Linked DNA regions of Homo sapiens: region 1 is linked to region 2. The links are contacts of gene promoters, found by promoter capture Hi-C in human tissues and cell types (Jung and others, 2019). All regions are on one chromosome and are shown on one strand. The core of a region is centred on a gene start or on the middle of the fragment in contact, and the rest is flanking DNA. Distances in the headings are between cores, read along the strand shown.

Region 1 (6,863 bases), core at 20-2,519, 58 kb before region 2:
CTTGTGGGTAGAGACATGAGGCAAGTTCTGGCCAATGAGAGTGAGTAGAAATGATGTGATCAGAGCATTTAATTGCTAATGCAAGATTTTTCAAAGCTCTTCCCCTCTGCCATGGTGGCAGGCAGTGTGAGTGACAATGGCTGCTCCATTCGCTTAGAAACCAAAAATAAGCCTGAGATCTGTAACGAAAGAGAAATTAAAGCACTGTTGTCAAAAACTCCTGAGATTTGGGAGCTGTCTTTACCATAGTAGAACCTGGTGCATCCTGATTAATACACAGCTAAATATATCATCGATGGGAGGATGGTCAGTTGTTATTTTACATGTATTTTGATTTAATTTCTTGATCACTTTGCCTCACCCTTGTTATCTTTTCTCATCCAATGCAGCCTAATGTTTTCAATTTTGTCATATTTTATGAGTTCTTGTAAGTCAACTTTGAGAATAGATGGGAAATGATTAAGTTAACTTAACGAATTTATGTGAACCCTGGAGAAACACCTCAGGGTGAGTTGGCTATGCAGGATAAACAGATTTTAAGTACAGCTGCTCTGGAAATTGTTTTCTTAACAGAGAAAATACCTAAGCTTAGGACTAGTAGCTGCATTTCCAGAGGGATGCACTAGAGGGCGCGTGGAGCTTGGTGTGCTCGACAGTCACGGTACCCTTTGGCCTTCTTGGGTACACTGAGAAGAGATATTGTCAAGGGATTATGGCGGGAGTTTTTGTTTGCATGATTTCCTATATTCGAAATTTCAGAAACTGGTATTGATTTACTTTCTTTTTATGCAAAATTGACCCTAAGAAAAATGAGGTTATAAAAATGTTCACTTGTCTGTAACATTATTTTATTATAAAATGTTAGAATTGAAGAGCATCTTAATGGAGGTTTATGGAGTCTTTCTTCACATCAGGAATTATTTTTCAATGCAGAATTCCACCCAAACTTATTCAATGTTCTGCTAATTTTCTGACCTCTTCCCTCAAAATTAACATGTCCTAGCTTCTATTTCCTAGGAGGGGCTTATTAAGTGGCCAGTTTGTTAATCTGGTTATCTAATTTGAAACAAAATGTTAATGGCTAACAATACCTTAGCTATTAACCATACCTACCTGTCCAGATAGAATTGTTTTTAACTGGCTGTAACATCAACATAAAAGGGAACAACATGGGTAAGTGTGGGAGTGGATTCCAGGTGTCAGTTTCATAAGCAACCTCCTGTATGATATTCATCCAAGACAACAGCTTTATTCTCAGGAGAATTACTACTCATATAATAAGTTAAATCTGGTATGATATTCATCCAAGACAACAGCTTTATTCTCAGGAGAATTACTACTCATATGCTAAGTTAAAATGTCATTAAATATTTTATAGAGGAATTTTGTTGTTCGGATTCCCTGTTTGAGGTTAATGCTACTTACTGCTTCTGGAGTTTTGGTAGGTTATAAGCTGTTTCTGTGGTTGTTCAGATCTTTGGTAATAGTAACAGGAATTGGATACAGGGTTGAAATGCATTTGTTAATCTCTAAACATTCTTTTAGTCAATAGCTTTAGCCTCCTTTCTTTTGAGGAAAAGTAAGGATAAATGAAAGAACACAAACTTTGGAGTCAAATAAATCTGGAGTTGGCCGGGTGCGGTGGCTCACGCCTGTAATGCCAGCACTTTGGGAGGCCGAGGTGGGCGGATCACGAGGTCAGGAAATCGAGACGATCCTGGCTAACACGATGAAACCCTGTCTCTAATAAAAATACAGAAAATTAGCTGGGCGTGGTGACGGGTGCCTGTAGCCCCAGCTACTCGAGAGGCTGAGGCAGGAGAATGGCGTGAACCCAGGAGGCGGAGCTTGCAGTGAGCCGAGATCGCGCCACTGCACTCCAGCCTGGGCGACAGAGCGAGACTCCGTCTCAAAAATAAATAAATAAATAAATAAATAAATAAATAAATAAATAAATAAATAAATAAATCTGGAGTTAGATACAAACTATCATCATATCCCAAGTTTTAAATTCCTCAACTGTAAAATGGGGATAAAAAACACATCTCAAAGATTTGGGGGAAGACTTATATCTTATGAAAAGTCCTTGAAATGTCTCAAAAAAATCTGTTTTCCATCAAATCTTTTGTGAAATATGAAACTCATTAATAAAATCAATGTATTTTAATTGCATTTCTGATATACAGAATTGAAATCACATTTCTAGTTAATGTTGGCAAAGTGAGGCAGCTGATAGATGGTTCTAATAATGAGATCCCCAAGGTGGACAGAGTGGACTTGGGTTTGGTGTTAGAACCCAGTGAACAATCAAATTGTGGAAGGTCCTGGCATCCCAGTCTCCCAGTGGGAGTGAGTCAATAGTGAGCCCTTTGACTGGCAGCCTCAGCCTCCCACATGAGCCTTTATTTCTGTCTCAGCTCCATCTGACAAACTCTCATGATTCCACATGAAGAGCAAGTGAAAATTTACACTAAGACAGTCAATAGAGTTTAAATCTTTGTGTTGCTTAGCCACAAGGTTCTTTTTTAAAAATTAGTCTTTTCAATAGAATAGTTAACTGCTCTGAAGGAATGTTTAGTTTTAGGGACATCTCCCAGGTCATGAATTATTATCTCAGTATCTGCTAAAATAACTGTATGCTAAATTAAATTCCATTATTGTAAACTGTCATTTCAAAGTAACTAGTTAAGTGCAACATTTTTTTTTAAACCAGTTAGAATATGTAGACCAGGCTTGGAGGCTCATGCCTATAGTCTTGGCTGCTCGGGAGGCTGAAGCATAAGAGTCCCTTGAGCCCAGGAGCTCAAGATTGCAGTGAGCCATGATCACACCACTGCACTCCAGCCCGGACAACAGTGAGACCCTGTGTCTAAAATAAATAAATACATAAGAATATGAGCCAGAGCCAATAATAGAGATATATACATATATATGAAGAAAAGTTTCTATTTTTAGTGTCTGCTGTGGCAGGGCTCCCCAACCCCCAGGGCACAGATCCGTCCTGATCTGTGGCATATTAGGAACCAGGCTGCACAGCAGGAGGTTAGGGTGGGCAAGTGAGCAAAACTTCCTCTATATTTAGAGATGCTTCCCATCACTCACAGTACCACCTGAGCCCTACCTCCTGTCAGATCAGCAGCAGCATTAGAGTCTCATAGGAGCGTGAACCCTGTTGAGAACCATGTGTGCAAGGGATTTAGTTTGTACAATCTTTAAGGGAATCTAATGCCTGATGATCTGTCACTGACCCTATCACCTCCAGATGGGATAGTCTAGTTGCAGGAAAACAAGTTCAGGGTTCCCACTGATTCTACATTACGGTGAATTATATAATTATTGTATTATATGCTACAATGTAATAATAATAGAAATAAAGTGTACAATAAATGTAATGCACTTCGATCATCCCCAAACCATCCCCCCACCACCCACCCTTGTCTGGAAAAATTGTCTTCCATGAACCCAGTCCCTGGTGCCAAAAAGGTTGAGGACTGCTGTGCTATAGAATGTGCCTTTCAGAAAAAGTTATTTTCCTAGAAAATGATCACTGAAATGTCAACAATTCTAATAACAATCTAAACCACTCTTATCTCCAGAGTGAACACAAAGGGAAATATAAAATTCCATGAAATCCTTGATTCTTTACACTTAATTTTTGTGGAGTCTTGGCTTGATGCTTGATGCTCTTTGCTATAAATCTTTTATGTTTTCATTCATTTCTTGGAGCATGCACTGATTAGATTGAGGAAGTGGGGAACACATTCTCCCTTTGGTTTCTGCCGTGGGTCTCAAAATCATTCTGAGAGGGGAAGAATCTTTTTTATCACTCTCTCTTTAGAGGAACAAGCAGCTCTGCTCAAAGGATTAAATTCCACAACTGCCTTATTATGATACCTTGTTTGAACCAGGGATGGTGGTCAAAACTGATCAAAATGCAATAGTTAACGTGTAATCCCTTGGGTCCCACGGTAACATGTAATTTCATGCATTTCAAATTTAGTTAAGTTTTTACAGCTAAATTTTGAGCTTTTTTATGCTAACTTGTATCATTTTGAATCACATATATATTATTAAGTAAGGTTAAAGGAATCTATGTCATGTAGTAATTCACTCTGTTTTTTGTTGTTGTTGTCGTTGTTTTGCTTGTTTGTTTGTTTTTGAGATGGAGTCTCTGTTGCCCAGGCTGGAGTGCAGTGGCAAGATCACAGCTCACTGCAACTTTTGCCTCCCGGTTTCAAGCGATTCTCCTGCCTCAGGCTCCCAAGAGGACGCTTCTCCACACCCAGCTAATTTTTTGTATTTTTAGTAGAGACAGGTTTCACCATGTTGGCCAGGCTGGCCTCAAACTCCTGACCTCAGGTGATCTGCCTGTCTTGGCCTCCCAAAGTGCTGGGATAATAGGCATGAGCCACCATTCCCGGCCAATTCATCCAGTTTTGATAGTTTATAATCCTTCATTTCACTGAGGAACTAGAAAACTGAATTCCTCTTTATTCTAATGACAGACTTCTCGGACCTCACTTTCAGTCCTCTCTGCATTCTTTCTCCCTCTGCCTTTCCTCTCCTCCACACCTCCTCTGGATATCTCATTCCTTTGTCCTAACTCTGACAATTAGCAGAAATTGCATGAAAACCCTAGTATTTATTTATTTATTTATTGTTTTGGAGAGACGGTCTGTCTCCGTCACCCAGGCTGGAGTACAGTGGCATGATCTCGGCTCACTGCAACCTCTGCCTCCTGGAAAACCCTTGTTATTTTTAACAAAGGATAAGCCAGACAATACTAGGAATGAGAGGCAGATCCCTGAAGAAAGGGGGGTGCAGTTCTGGGAGAGGGAGAGGTATTGGCAGTTAAGTCTTGACCAGGCCAGAGAGCAGCATCAGCTGGAGGAAGGGTGAGTCCAACAGCCAAATGGAAATGAGTGCACTGAGGAATTGGAAGAGGAAGAGCAAAGTTCAGTGAGAACCAGAAGGCAGGAGAGCCCAGCAGCCTGCCCACATCTGAAGACATGGAGCTGAGAACAGGAAATCCGTGTGGCGTTTAGGATTTGGGGTGAACCAGAGGAAGGAGCTGCTGCCCGTGTCGGTATGCTCAGGATGACGGTTGGTTTTGTTGTGAAAGACAAGAATGAAAATAGGAATGCCAACGAGACTGATTCTGAGATACTTGGAAGCCCTCAGGGTTTAGAGGGATAGATCTCACCCCATGAAGGTCTTATCTGAAAACATGTTTGGGTATATTTTAGTAGGTGGGATCAGAGCTTTCCCAGGAACTTCCCCATCCCAAAGGGAAGCACTCTTTTGAATTCTGTGACTATGCATTTGTTTTGCCTATTTTAAACTTTATAAAAAGGAATCATAAAAGCATATACTCTTTAGTGTCTCACCTTTTGCTTAATATTATGCCTGGGCAATTCATCCATGCTCATGCATGTAGTAATGGTTTATCCATTCTCATGGCTGTATATATTCTATTGACTATAGCAGGATGTATCTGTCCTTTCTACAATCATTATTTGTTTGTTTCATCGTGTGTTTTGAAACTACAATGGCCTCCCTAAAGGCAATCTTTCAAGACCATGCTGATTCTTCTCAGGGCCCAGCCTGATATGGTTTGGCTCTGTGTTCCCACCCAAATCTCACCTCGAACTGTAATCCGCATGTGCCGAGGGAGGGACCTGGTGGGAGGTGATTGGCTCATGGGGGCAGTTTCCCCCATACTATTCTCGTGACAGTGAGGGAGTTCTCACGAGATCTGATGGTTTTAAAGTGGCAGTTGCCCCGCGCTCTCTCTCTCTCCTGTCACCTTGTGAAGACGGACCTTGCTTCCCTTTCACCTTCTGCCATGATTGTAAGTTTCCTAAAGCCCCTCCAGCCATGCAGAACTATGAGTCAATTAAACCTCTTTCCTTCCAAAAATTACCCTGTCTCAGGTAGTATCTTTATAGCAGTGTGAGAACAAACTAATACATGAAGGGGTGGCCTGCCCCTTCACACCTGCGGGTATTTCTAGTCAGGTGGGACGAGAGACTGAGAAAAGTAATAAGACACAGAGACAAAGTATAGAGAAACAACAGTGGGCCCAGGGGACCAGCGCTCAGCATACCAAGGACCTGCACCAGCACTGGTCTCTGAGTTCCCTCAGCTTTTATTGATTATTATTTTCATTATTTTAGCAAAAAGGAATGTAGTAGGAGGGCAGGGTGATAATGAGAAGGTCAGCAACAAACATGTGAGCAATAGAATCTATGTCATAATTAAGTTTAAGGGAAGGTACTATGCCTGGATGTGCACGTAGGCCAGATTTATGTTTCTCTCCACCCAAACATCTCAGTGGAGTAAAGAATAACAAGGCAGCATTGCTGTAAACATGTCTCACCTCCCACCATAGGGCGGTTTTTCTCCTATCTCAGAATTGAACAAATGTACAATCGGGTTTTATACCAAGACATTTAGTTCCCAGAGGCAGGCAGGAGACAGTGGCCTTCCTCTATCTCAACTGCAAGAGGCTTTCCTCTTTTACTAATCCACCTCAGCACAGACCCTTTACGGGTGTCAGGCTGGGGGACGGTCAGGTCTTTCTCATCCCACGAGGCCGTATTTCAGACTATCACATGGGGAGAAACCTTGGACAATACCCAGCTTTCAAGGGCAGAGGTCCTTGCGGCTTTCCACAGTGCATTGTGCCCCTGGTTTATTGAGACTAGAGAATAACGATGACTTTTACCAAGTATACTGCTTGTAAACATTTTGTTAACGAGGCCTGTCCTGCACAGCCCTAGATCCCTTAAACCTTGATTTCATACAACACATGTTTTTGTGAGCTCCAGGTTGGATCAAAGTGGTTGGGTCAAAGTGGCTGG
Region 2 (6,749 bases), core at 4,167-6,666:
TAAAGAGGTTTTACACCCTACTGTGTTTTCTCAATGCTTGTCCCTTCTCTCTATCCCCAAAATGTGTGGATTATAAACTTGTCTTATTTATGGTCTTCATTAAGTTTTCTTGGAAAACACACCTTTTAGAATGAAACTACTTTTAATCTGCAGCTTTATTTCCAGTTAAGAATCCAAACCAAATATTTACATTCTAATAACAATTATTTGAAATGTTATTGTGTCAATCATGAGATTCAATGGAAGTATCTGATAATAAATGAATTTAGGTCAAGGTAAGAAATAAATAGCAAAAACACAAATTCACTCTACAGCAAATGAGACCTATTCTTCCATTCTATTCATTGTAGCACTGCCCGAAATGTACAGATCAGTAGGAAAATAAAGCCTATGCAGTAGGTGCTATATGAAACAGTTTGCATACACTTGACAAAAGTGCACATTTCAGTTAAATTATATAGTGAAATTATACAATTCCTCCCTCCCACACAGTAACATAACAGCAAAACAATGACAAAAGTTCAAAATTAATAGAGAAACATCAAGTAGAGGCCACCAATAAGATCTTAAAATGTGGAATATTTTACTAACAACTATGTAAGTCAAATCTTGGACTCCTGCCTGAATAGATGTAAGATGATCATTTTGATGTATTTGAATGAGTAGTATGTATATGTAAATGTTTTGAGGTCCTGATAGCCGCAAAACTGACAATAAAGGCACAACCAGCTAAAAGTGCCCAAAATAATAATCAAGAAAACACCTGAGCCACGTGTTCTAAAAAGTTAATAATGCAAATGATCAGATGATTTAGATAAGGTTAGTAGTGAAAGAATGTGTAGGTTTTAACTGAATATCACTTATATTGGTAATCTTCCATCTTGGAGTATCAGCACATATAGAAGGCAATTTTCCAAACATTTTATAGTTATATGTGGCAAAGACGGGTTTCAAATTCAATGCCTAGAACAGTTGCAGCACCTAGAAGTACCCAGTAAATATTAATTGAGTAATGAATAAGAAATGGAGGGATGGATTCCTTAAAAGTGGTCTACTATATCCATCATACTAACTCCGGCAAATGCATTTTCCTAGGAAAAGAACAGTCAAGCATATCACAACTAAGATTATAATGGTTCAGTAAGTATAAAAGGGAGTGGGAATTCAATGTGGATACAGAAAAGAGAGAAAGTCCTAAGAAAGTCCTTAGGACACAGGAAGGCCGAAGCCCATTCTTGGCCCATCACTGGGAAGCTAGTTCAGTGGGGTTTAGATCATTTGAAGCATCATGTTTTCATCCTTGATAGCTCTGTGAGAATCAAACTCTAATTTGAGCATTTACAGAGGTGGTAACTTTTGGAATTTAGTGTGATAAAGAGGTGATTACTAAGATGGTGGCCTTTGAGAAATCATTGATTCCTCCCTTCAGTTTCCTTATTAGTAAATAGAGACACCTACCTTACAGGTATTTCCATTAAAGAGGGACATTATGCATATAAAATGAAATAATGCACTAAAAGAAAGTTTGCACTTTTAAAAGAGAGAACTTTTAGACCTAAAGGCGATTTACTCTGTTTTCTTGCCTGAGAGGGTCACCACCCAGGCATAATCATAAATGCATGGAGTCTTCCTACAAGGGGCTTGAGTAATATATTTGATTTGACTTATTATAAAGTGGAGAGGGCAAGGCAGTAGAAAAATTAGGAAACATCTGGAATACTCTAGGATGGCGAAGGCCTAAATAAGGCAATATCAGCAGAATAGAGAGATAAGGCTAAATTTGAGAACTAATTTGATTGGGCTGCAGTTCATGTACAAATATCACAAGGTAGGGTTTATGAAGCTCAGAAAGCAGGAATGAGCAATCTTTCTTCCCTTAATTGATCTCCCAGATCACTGGGTCACTTGTGCTGGGCTAACTGATGAGACGCCATTAGTCTACAAGGTGGAAGTTTGCTCCTGGCAAGTGCACTCATTTTTTTTTCTCTCTCTCTCTCTTTTTTTTTTTTTTTTTTGAGATGGAGTCTCGCTTTGTCATCCAGTGCAGAAGCGCGATCTTCGCTCACTGAGATTGCTCCACCTCCCCAGCCTCCTGAGTAGCTGGGATTACAGGCATGAGCCACCTTGCTCGGCCCAGTTCTGCTTTCTCTGAGTCTTTTTGCCAAGAAGTAGATGAGTCGGTTAAAACTGGAATGAGGCTGGACTGTGGCACGCACCCGTAGTCCCAGATACTCAGAAGGTTGAGATGAGAGGATCTCTTGCACCCAGGAGTTTGAGACCAGCCTGAGCAACATAAGGAAAAACAAAAACTTAAAAAAAAAAAAAAAGTTGATATTGCCAGGTGTAAGATGAACAGGACACCATGCTTCTTCCAAGGGCAGGCTGTGCTGTGAAATGTCAACAACAGTCCCCTTTTTTGAGTGACTACTTCTTTCTAACTCATTGGAAAATCTTGCTTCCTATGCTCATAGACTATCAGAAAATTTGATTTTTGAAATTATGTCAGTAAAAATGAAACCTCCCATAATTGCTTGTAGGATCTAACTCACTTTGACAACAGAGACATGGCCCCGATTTACAACTCAAGTACAGAGCTTCAGATAAGGAGTTTCCCAAGACAGCATTCCACATTTATCCAAGGAAACAGAACCCTTGGTCACAGCCCAAACCTCATGTTGACTCCCAGCTCTGCTTTGCTTTGAGCCTATCAAAACTCCACTTCATGGTTCCTCTAGTTTGCAGTATCTCTACTGTAACATTGAGTCAATGAACCTGACTTTGTGGGACTGCAGGTTTTGTCCTTGATGGTCTTAGGCTGGTTGGATTGGACACACTATTCTATTCCGTGTTAATGCCATTCTTTTCATTATTATAGCTTAATTACATGTTTCTTTTTTCATTGCCTTATCAAAAGGTTCTCAGGGCTGGAGGCAGTGGCTCACACCAGTAATCCCAGCACTTTGGGAGGCTGAGGTGGGTGGATCACAAGGTCAGGAGATCGAGACCATCCTGCCCAACATGGTGAAACCCTGTCTCTACTAAAAATACAAAAATTAGCTGGGCATGGTGGCGGTGCCTGTAGTCTCAGCTACTCGGGAGGCTGAGACAGGAGAATCACTTGAACCTGGGAGGCGGAGGTTGCAGTGAGCCGAGATCGTGTTACTGCACTCCAGACTGGCAACAGAGTGAGACTGACTCCGTCTCAAAGAAAAAAAAAAAAAAAAGTTCTCAATTTTTTTTGTCTTAGAACCTTCCTTTATTTACACTCTTAAAAAGTTTTGAGGACTCCAAAGAACTTTTATGTTATAGCAATTAAAACTGAGAAATTTTAAAAATATATTTCACTACTAAGCTCATTACATGTTAACATGAATAGCATATTTTTAAGTGAAAAATACCTGTATTTTCCAAAACCAAAAAAGTTTAATGGTAAGAATGGCATTATTTTATATTCTTGCACATTTCTTTAATGTCTGGCATAACAGAAGACGTTACCTGTTTCTGCATTCAATCTGTTGTGATATCACATATTATGGAGCCACTGGAAAACTTCATCATAAATTCATTTAAAAAATGGGAGAGAAAAAGGAGTGGAAAAAAGTCTTATTATTAAAGTAATTTTGGTCCTGTGAACCTCCCGAAATGGTTTCAGAGACCGCCCCCTGACCCCCAACAAATTTCCCCTAGACCACACTCTGAGAACCACTGGACTTAGCTCTTCTAGCTTCTGTAGTTTTCATATGAATTCTAGAATATATTTGTCTCTTAATTTGGGAGGTAGTAATTATGTGTTTAACATCTTGTCTTCTAACTTAGGATTCCAGTGTCTTTCCAATTATAAATAGTCTGTCAACAATCCTGCATTTTTAAATTTTTTCCCACTTTTCTCCTATATTTCTCATTTTTTATCATTCTTAGTTATTTCATGTTCTTTCATGCTTCTATTGTGAATGGGATCTATTTTTCTATTGTATTTTAATTGGGTGTTGTTTGTCTCTATTGAGATTGTGACTTTATTTTGCATGTGAGCACTCAGTTGCTCTAATTCTTAAAATCTCCCAGGTATGTCCAAATGGCCATAATTATGTTGAATAATATATTTGCTGTGATCTGTTTTTGATGAGATAACTTCTTGATTTGAAGCTGTTCATATATGTTAGGCTTTTGATTCAATATAATCCCTATTACAAGTCCACTATTCAATTTCTAATTTTTTTTTTTTTTTTTTTCGAGACGGAGTCTCGCTCTATCGCCCAGGCTGGAGTGCAGTGACGTGATCTCGGCTCCGTCACTGCAAACTCTGCCTTCTGGGTTCACGCCATTCACCTGCCTCAGCCTCCCAAGTAGCTGGGACTACAGGGGCCTGCCACCATGCCCGGCTAATTTTTTTGTATTTTTTAGTAGAGACGGGGTTTCACTGTGTTAGCCAGGATGGTCTCGATCTCCTGACCTTGTGATCCGGCCGCCTCGGCCTCCCAAAGTGCTGGGATTACAGGCGTGAGCCACCGCGCCCGGCCCAATTTCTAAATTTTAAAGCTACTTTAAGAGGAAGGGTCTTGAATATACTGAATGACCTTTTGAAACAGATTTTTAACATCACATTTTTTCCTTAAGATATGCATTGATTAGGATTAGATGACCTCTCTTTGGTCTCTTCTATAATTCTCATTTAGATAACATGAACGACAGACCCATTGAGATAATTAACAGAATCAAAGGATGTTTTGGTTGTAGTTCTCACCTGTTCAATGGATGAAGGTATAGCAATACCCAATATGTCCCTAGAGACTGTTCAAGAGAATCTGGCCATCAGGGTCCCCCCAGGTGAGCCCTGTGTGACAGGAGACCACAGAAGGTCTGGAAAGGATTGCAAAGGACCAAGTAGAGGGTTGGTGACTAACGGGCTGCCTCCCGAGGGTAGAAGTTCTTGCCTTTAACTTCAGCCCCAGCCCCAAACTCCTTAGCAGTCTGCAAAAGGGAACTGGACCCTGGGAGCGATCTCATTAGCCACTCACTATCCCTCTTGGACCTGAAACCCATTACATTTTCCGGGTCCGAGACCCTCGTAGTGTGGGGAATTTCCTGGGAGGAAGATACTACGCGGGGCCGGGAGCAGAATTTGCTCCAGGCACTGGGCCAGTCCATGAGGGCTCCAGGATCCAGGGGCCCCACTCCCTTCTCGCCGGGCTCCGGGCCAAGGAAGCGCGGCCGGAGTCCCGGGAAGCCCCTCGGCAGCCAGCCAAGGGCCCTGCGAGGATGTGGATGGCGCGGATGGCGCGGCCTCCACCTGCGGGCAGTGGAGAGAGCGGCGAGAGGAAGAATATTCCCCGCGAGCCGGGATAAGGGGCCCCTTCGGCTCGGTTGACCCAGGTCAGATCCTCCCGCCGACCTTCGGCCCGCCCTCTACAGGCGGCCCAGTTCTTCCCCTGCTCGGCTGCCCCTGCCCGCCCCTCGAGGGAGCGCCCGTAGCCAGCGCCCCCGTAAAGAAATAAGGAGGCGCCCGGCTTCCCGCCCAGGTACGTGTCGGGACAGCGCAGGGGACTGGCTTGGGGCGGCGGTGGGTAGCGGCGCCCGCGCGGCGCTGGAAACGGCCCCGCTTCCTTGGACCCCGGGGCTTGCAGGGCGGGCCCGGGGCTCTCTGAGCGCGAGGCTGCCGCGACCGCCCGCCCGCCCAGGTCAGATCCGGAGGACCTGTGTGTTTGTCGGGGCCTGGGGTGAGAGAGGGGACTCGAGGGGAGAAGTAGAGCGGGAAACCAAGAGGGGGAATGTGAGGCTTGAACGAGCTGGATGGGAGAGCTCGAGGGGAGGAGAGGGATGAACTTGAGGGGGAAACGGGGGCGGGGGTGAACTCGAGGGGGAGCCAGGAGGAGGGAACGGGAAGGGTGAACCTGAGGGGTGGACTTGAGGGAAGATCTTGTGGGTGAACCCGAGGAGGGAACGCGAGGGGATAGTGAGGGGGGATCTCGAGGAGGGAACGTGAGGAATGAACTTGAGGAGGGAACGGGAGGGGTGAACGTGAAGTGGAAACAGGAGGAGGGAACGGGAAGGGTGGCGTAAGGGGTGAAGGAAGATCTTTAGGGGTGAACTTGGGAAGGAAACGTAAGGGGAGGACCTCGAAGAGTAACGAGGGGCGAGAACTGAGGGGGCCCTGCAGGGAGACTGGAGGGAGGAGGCGCCGAGTCTGGCGGGTGTCGCCTCGGAGACCTGTGGCGCGCGCGGGCTTTGCGGCGCCGCCCACAGGTGGCGCTGGGTCGGCCCGTCCCTGAGGGAACTGCGTTCCGGGTGATTTCTCAGAACAAGCAGGTCGGTGGAGCTGGGCTCCCTGCAACCCCAAATGCATCCGTAAAGGAGTTTTAATTTTAAGGAGAAAGAGCAGACAAGAAAAGTATGATCATTATTGAGAAATAGAGAAACCTACCAGGAAAGGATGTCCTTTCAAGTCTGCTCACCAACAGCTCTGTTCTGTTCTCCAAGTAGTTGCTAACTCGCACCTTGCTACTATCCCCCTTCCAGAAAAAAAATTTTATTATTGTTAGAATGGAAATTGGCCATAAGCCTTGAAATGACTGTTGTAATGCCACTGAACCCTACACACTAAGCGTTTTTGAAAACTCAAAAGAATCTTCATTTCTGGTTGTTTCTAGTTTTCTTGGTGAATTAACTAATTGTACAGGTGCACTTAAACCTTCTTAAGCATTTTTATAATTCAGACGGATCTGGTAGCTTGAGAGTTGTTTAATGCCAGCATA

Evidence for each region. Contacts are between HindIII fragments. The study calls those that stand out against the background at their distance.
Region 1: a contact is called between a fragment that was not itself captured here and the fragment with the promoter of MYO3A in region 2, in 1 of the 25 tissues and cell types used here (spleen).

Annotation. Positions count from the first base shown.
Region 1 is chr10:25,875,132-25,881,994 of GRCh38, forward strand. No RefSeq gene overlaps it. Among named protein-coding and RNA genes, the nearest start is that of MYO3A, 56 kb to the right of the region's middle. RefSeq lists a silencer at 534-713. The HindIII fragment of the contact is 5,454 bases long and covers 1-3,996 here.
Region 2 is chr10:25,928,813-25,935,561 of GRCh38, forward strand. It overlaps MYO3A (myosin IIIA), which reads left to right and starts at 5,417. Exons shown (of 35, transcript NM_017433.5): 1 at 5,417-5,516. LOC101929073 (a long non-coding RNA gene) reads right to left here and starts at 4,898. Exons shown (of 4, transcript NR_120650.1): 1 at 4,742-4,898; 2 at 3,496-3,549. The HindIII fragment of the contact is 12,658 bases long and covers 1-6,749 here.